Linked DNA regions of Homo sapiens: region 1 is linked to region 2. The links are contacts of gene promoters, found by promoter capture Hi-C in human tissues and cell types (Jung and others, 2019). All regions are on one chromosome and are shown on one strand. Each heading gives the region's core, a stretch centred on a gene start or on the middle of the fragment in contact. The rest is flanking DNA. Distances are from core to core; before and after follow the strand shown. Region 1 has its middle 3.5 kb from the start of TOP2A. Region 2 holds the start of PSMD3 (proteasome 26S subunit, non-ATPase 3).

What was found. Contacts are between HindIII fragments. The study calls those that stand out against the background at their distance.
Region 1: a fragment that was not itself captured here is called in contact with the fragment with the promoter of PSMD3 in region 2 in 1 of the 25 tissues and cell types used here (dorsolateral prefrontal cortex).

The regions. Positions count from the first base shown.
Region 1 is chr17:40,420,094-40,422,793 of GRCh38, reverse strand. No RefSeq gene overlaps it. Among named protein-coding and RNA genes, the nearest start is that of TOP2A, 3.5 kb to the right of the region's middle. RefSeq lists an enhancer at 2,692-2,700. The HindIII fragment of the contact is 5,785 bases long and covers 1-2,700 here.
Region 2 is chr17:39,979,406-39,982,105 of GRCh38, reverse strand. PSMD3 (proteasome 26S subunit, non-ATPase 3) reads right to left here and starts at 1,299. Exons shown (of 12, transcript NM_002809.4): 1 at 916-1,299. The coding sequence starts at 1,135. RefSeq lists a silencer at 959-1,008 and enhancers at 411-1,388, 1,189-1,468, 1,689-1,868, 2,290-2,700. The HindIII fragment of the contact is 7,545 bases long and covers 1-2,700 here.

The DNA.
Region 1 (2,700 bases), core at 9-2,508, 440 kb before region 2:
CTATGAAGAGCAGGAGGAGGTACTCCCATTATCCCCATTTTAGATTGTTAAAAATTATAGGCCGGGCGCCGTGGCTCACGCCTATAATCCCAGCACTTTGGGAGGCCGAGGCGGGTGGATCACGAGGTCAGGGGTTCGAGAATAGCCTGACCAACATGGTGAAACCCCATCTCTACTAAAAATACAAAAATTAGCTGGGCGTGGTGGTGGACACCTGTAATCCCAGCTACTCAGCAGGCTGAGGCAGGAGAATTGCTTGAACCTGGGAGGTGGAGGTTGCAGTGAGCCAAGATCACACCACTGCACTCCAGCCTGGGCGAAAGAGCGAGACTCCGTCTCAAAAAAAAAAAAAAAAAATTATGGGAGGTTGGCTGGGAGCGGGGGCTCACTCCTGTAATCTCAGTGCTTTGGGAGGCCAAGGCAGGCAGATCACTTGAGGTCAGGAGTTCAAGACCAGCCTGGCCAACATGGCGAAACCCGCCTCTACAAAAATTAGCTGGGTGTGGTGGTGCACGCCAGTAATCTCAGCTGCTGCAGAGGCTGAAGCAGGAGAATTGCTTGAGCTCGGGAGACCGAGGTTGCAGTGAGCCGAGATCGCACCCCTGCACTCCAGCCTGGGCAATAGAGTGAGACTCCGTCTAAAAAAAAAAATTATGGAGGCCATTGTTTTCAACTGAGCTCCTACACTAGGCCCCAAAAGACTAGACCAAACCAAGATGGAGTAATTCGTGCTAAATGCCATGTAATCCAACTGAAACTTTAAAGAAGCAGATAGATTCCAAAACAGACCACTTTTTCCTGAAAACAGGAGAGTCCAATCTACCTAAGTCAGTTTAATAAGGAAGTCCCCTCTGCTTTAACTCCACAAAAAAGTAACCTGAAGTACCTGATGTTAACCAATCAGGTTTTTTCCTATTGCTGTTTCCTGGTTCCCACCTTACAAAACCCACCATTCTGCTATTGCCCAATGGAAGCTTTCATTCTATTTTGTAGAATGGGGGCTGCCCCAATTCATGAATCACAAATAAAAGTCAATTTGATCTACAACTGAACTTGTAAGGGAGACTGAGTGACTTGCCCAAAGTCATATACCCAGCAAATACCCTAGTCAGGGATCTGCCTTAAGTACTCAACCACATATTCAAGTACAGGTTGGGGGAGGGAGGGGGTAATGTCCAGGTAGCTACTTTGGGCCCCTGCAGAGTGGGGGCAGGGTGGGTGGATAATGAGGATGGTATCTTTCCCCTCCCCCCACCACAGCCCCCTGGAACTACCCCCAACCCCTTCTTGCCTCCCAGGACTGGCAGGCACCTGCAGTTCCCTCTTTTTTTTTTTTTTTTTTTTTTTTTTGAGACGGAGTCTCGCTCTGTCGCCCAGGCCGGACTGCGGACTGCAGTGGCGCAATCTCGGCTCACTGCAAGCTCTGCTTCCCGGGTTCACGCCATTCTCCTGCCTCAGCCTCCCGAGTAGCTGGGACTACAGGCGCCTGCCACCGCGCCCGGCTAATTTTTTGTATTTTTAGTAGAGACGGGGTTTCACCTTGTTAGCCAGGGTGGTCTCGATCTCCTGACCTCGTGATCCACCCGCCTCGGCCTCCCAAAGTGCTGGGATTACAGGCGTGAGCCACCGTGCCCGGCCCTGCAGTTCCCTCTTTGTGTGCAATGCCTTCCAGGCCCACCCATCCCAGACCCCCACCACTATTCTTTCTTCAATAGTCCCCACAAGTCCTGCAGGACCCCCTGCAATAGGCTCTGGGAAGAGGGAGGGACTGGCAGAGAAATAGCTTGTACCCAGAAGAGAAGGGGGGTGGGCCAGAGCAAGACCACCTTGTGCTACAGAGCTGGAAAAGGATTGTCCCCGACACTTGCATATCTCATTTTGCCCTCTGTGTCTTTGATAAAGGATAATGGCATGGGGAAACCAAGAGACCCAGGAAGAATTCTAACTTAGGTGTGTGTGGCCCCAAAGTCCTTTTGTGTTTTTTGTTGTTGTTGTTGTTTGTTTTTTTGAGACGGGGTCTTGCTCTGTCGCCCAGGCTGGAGTGCAATGGCACGATCTCGGCTCACTGCAACCTCCGCCTCCTGGATTCAAGCTATTCTCCCACCTCAGCCTCCCGAGCAGCTGGGATTACAGGCACCCGCCATCAGGCATGGCTAATTTTTTTTTTTGTATTTTTGTAGAGATGGGGTTTCACCAAGTTGTCCAGGCTGGTCTCAAACCCCTGAACTCAGGTGATCCACCCACCTCAGCCTCCCAAAGTGCTGGGATTACAGGCGTGAGCCACCACACCCGGTCCCCAAAGTCCTTTTGACTCCACAGTACTTCTTCTGGGTTTTTGGAACAAAGACACACAGGATCCAGCTAAACTGCAGGACAGATTTAAAGCTGGGCCCCTAAAAAATAGGGCTGGAGCTGCTTGTTAAATTCCTGTTGCCTCATTGCCCAGTGGGTCACTGCAGGCTGGGATGAGCTACAGGGTAGAGGCCGGGAGCTGCAGAAACTGAGCTGCCATCCTTGGGGAAGCATGCCCACCATCCCCACTACCTTGGAGGTAGTGCGTTCTAGGAGGTAGAAGCCAGCATGGCTGGTTTCTGTCAGGGCCCTCGGGTGTCCTGCAGAGAGTGGCATGCAGGCCCTGGATCCCAGGGCCTGGTCAGTCTTCTGGCTGAGCAGAGGCTACTGGCCAAGCTTCCCTACCAC
Region 2 (2,700 bases), core at 50-2,549:
TTGAGCTAGTTTCTCACGCATTTTAGTGAAAAGAAAACCTAGTAAGTAGTCTGGTCCCACTTGATCCAGAACCAGGAAAATGGCACCAGGATCACAGTGGGAAGCTCTCACTTTGCCCACTTCAAATGGAAACAGGACGCTGTAAGTGGGAAAAGTAAAACATGAACTTGGAGGAACAAGAGGACTACAGACACTCGAAACAGGAACCTCGGAGAAAAGAAATAGGAGACACCGGTATATAGGAGTTTAGGCCAAAGGTTGAGTATTACAAAACCAAACAAAGATGACACCCGAAAAGTTTTAAGTGTGTATGTACTTAAACCCTTTAGAAACAGAGGGGCAGTAAGGACCTGAAGGGAGGAGACAGCAAGGGGACTGTTGGGACACTTCAGTTAGAGAAGTAGGAAACAAGATACTAGGTCGAAATGGTTCATTCGGGGGAGTGTGCTAAAGGCAGCTAGGACAACAAAAATCTGCTGTACAGTTTTAAAACTCAGGAGTCAATATTCTAGGTCATCCTGGCCCTGTTTACACACAGACACAAACACTGGTTTCCAGCGGGAACAATCAGTCATATATTGGAGGCGCTAAAATCAGTCGGGTGGGATATAAACGGAATAGGTCAGAGGGGAGGACTTAAAAGAGGGAGTCCCCAGGCCCACTGGGACCTAGATATAGATGCAACCCCAGATATGGGGATGGAGGGGATGGGAGGGGAGTGGTTCCCAGCCTGGAGAGAAGGTTCAGTCATTGGGCCTGGAGTCGGGAGTGTCGGGGCAGTGGGAGCAGGTATCTGGGGGTGATCCCAAAGAACTGAGGGTGGTGGAGGCTGCTGTGGCTTCCCAGCAAGAAGCCAAATCACAGGGGTCGCTGTCACCCGCGATCGCGGCACGTTCCCGGCCTGGGCTGCCGTACCCTCCAAGGTGACTGTGTCCAGCTCTCGCTGGGAGTGCTCAGCCGCTGCCGCCGCCGTCTTGCCGTCTGCCTCCCCCGTCGACCCGCCACCCGTCGCTGCCTCCTCTTTCATCTCCACATCCTGGGGGGCCGGCGGCGGTGGGGGTTCTTGTTCTCCTCCGCCGGGCGGCGGTTTCGCCTTGTCCGCGCCGCGGCGCCGCGCCGAGCCCTCCTGCTTCATGGCACCCGGGGTCACGGCCTAGTCCGGGGACCGAGGCCGGGGCCTCGCGTTAACCCTCGCACCGGGGACCAGGAGCCGAGCCGGGCCTGCACACGAGCGCGAGATAGCGTCGGGCCGCACGATGACGGAGCAGCTGCAAACCCCTTCCCGGCGCTGGGCCTTCTGGGAAACGCCAGGCCCGGCAGGCCGATGGCCGAGTCAACAAAGGGGAAATAAATCCACAGCCGAGGTGCAGGATGAAGGAGGAGCTTCGAGGAAGGAGCGGGGAGGAGCCTTTATGGGTTCGTGGGGCTTTCTTTCGAGCGCTTAAGTGTGATGCTTTTATGTTCCTCTCGAGTGCATTTCTGTGGGCGTCCACGAGAGGTCCCCTCAGGCTCCAATCTGGGTTACAAAGGACTTTAAGAGCGCCTCAACCAGCGTGGAGTGGGTACAGCCTATCCGAGCGCGGGACGAGATGACGTCACGAGTTGCCGGGCGGGTTTTGCGCCCAAGTTCGCTCAATTTTCCCCGGTCGCGGCGGGGTCTCCTTCCAGATCCGCTGGGCTTGTGCTCAACGGCTGCCGGGCGCATCCGGCAGGAGGGAAGGAAAGAAGGCTGTGAAGGAGGGACGTGAAGCTAGGGCTGTTGGCCTTAAAATAAACCGAACTGGAGAGTAGGAAGAACCCTATGGGATCCGGACTTCCTTGGTTAGATTTGAGTTTAGTGCTGAACATAAGGCATACAATTTCTGCAGGCTGGGAGTGCCGATAGGTAGGAGCGTGCATTTGCGTAGAATCACTCCAGTTTAACAAAATATAGGGGTCCACCCTATGTACGGCCCACGGTTAGCAAATAGGGGGGTGAAAAACAGCTCAAGAATGTAGTATACGGGGGAGTCAGATGGTTAGATAAGCAGACACTGTGCTCTGGGCTGCGGTGGATTGGGAGTGTTGAGGAAAGAGGGTGGGAGCCCCTACTGGCAGACGCTTTAGGGAGCCCATTGAGAGGGCTTTTATACATCCAGACAGACATTGTGAAATGGGGAACAGAATAATGGTGTGCCTAAGGAGAGAATGATGGTTTACTTAGTGGTGTACCTAAGGGGAAGCAAATTGGACAAGAAACCCTACCCACTTATTTTTCAAAGGACTGCCCCACTGGTTCTGCAGGGAAGGTGAAACAAGGTGAAGGATATAGCTCCCAATTTCTTAGAACACACAACAAAAACTCTCTCCCTACCTTGAAACTTTTCTCTCTCCCATAAGTGGAAGTCCTGAGTTTTAGACCTTTCACGGACCCTACAAGACAATCTAGCCCTGTTGTAAGGACCTAGAAGGCAGGAAATATGTTTTGACCTCCTCCTTTGCATATATAAAGGGTATCCTGCATATCTTTTGCATCCTCTTTCATAGGATTGCAGGATGTTCCTTGCGTTAAACAGCCACTCGCTAACTGGAAAGATATGTGCTCTAGTTTTAGGGAACATGCCTTGACCAGTTCCTCCTCAACTGTCCTCTCACCCTCCAGGGCTGGGGGGTGGATAACAGGACTTTTGAATCATCATTGGAATAAACTCATTAGAACCT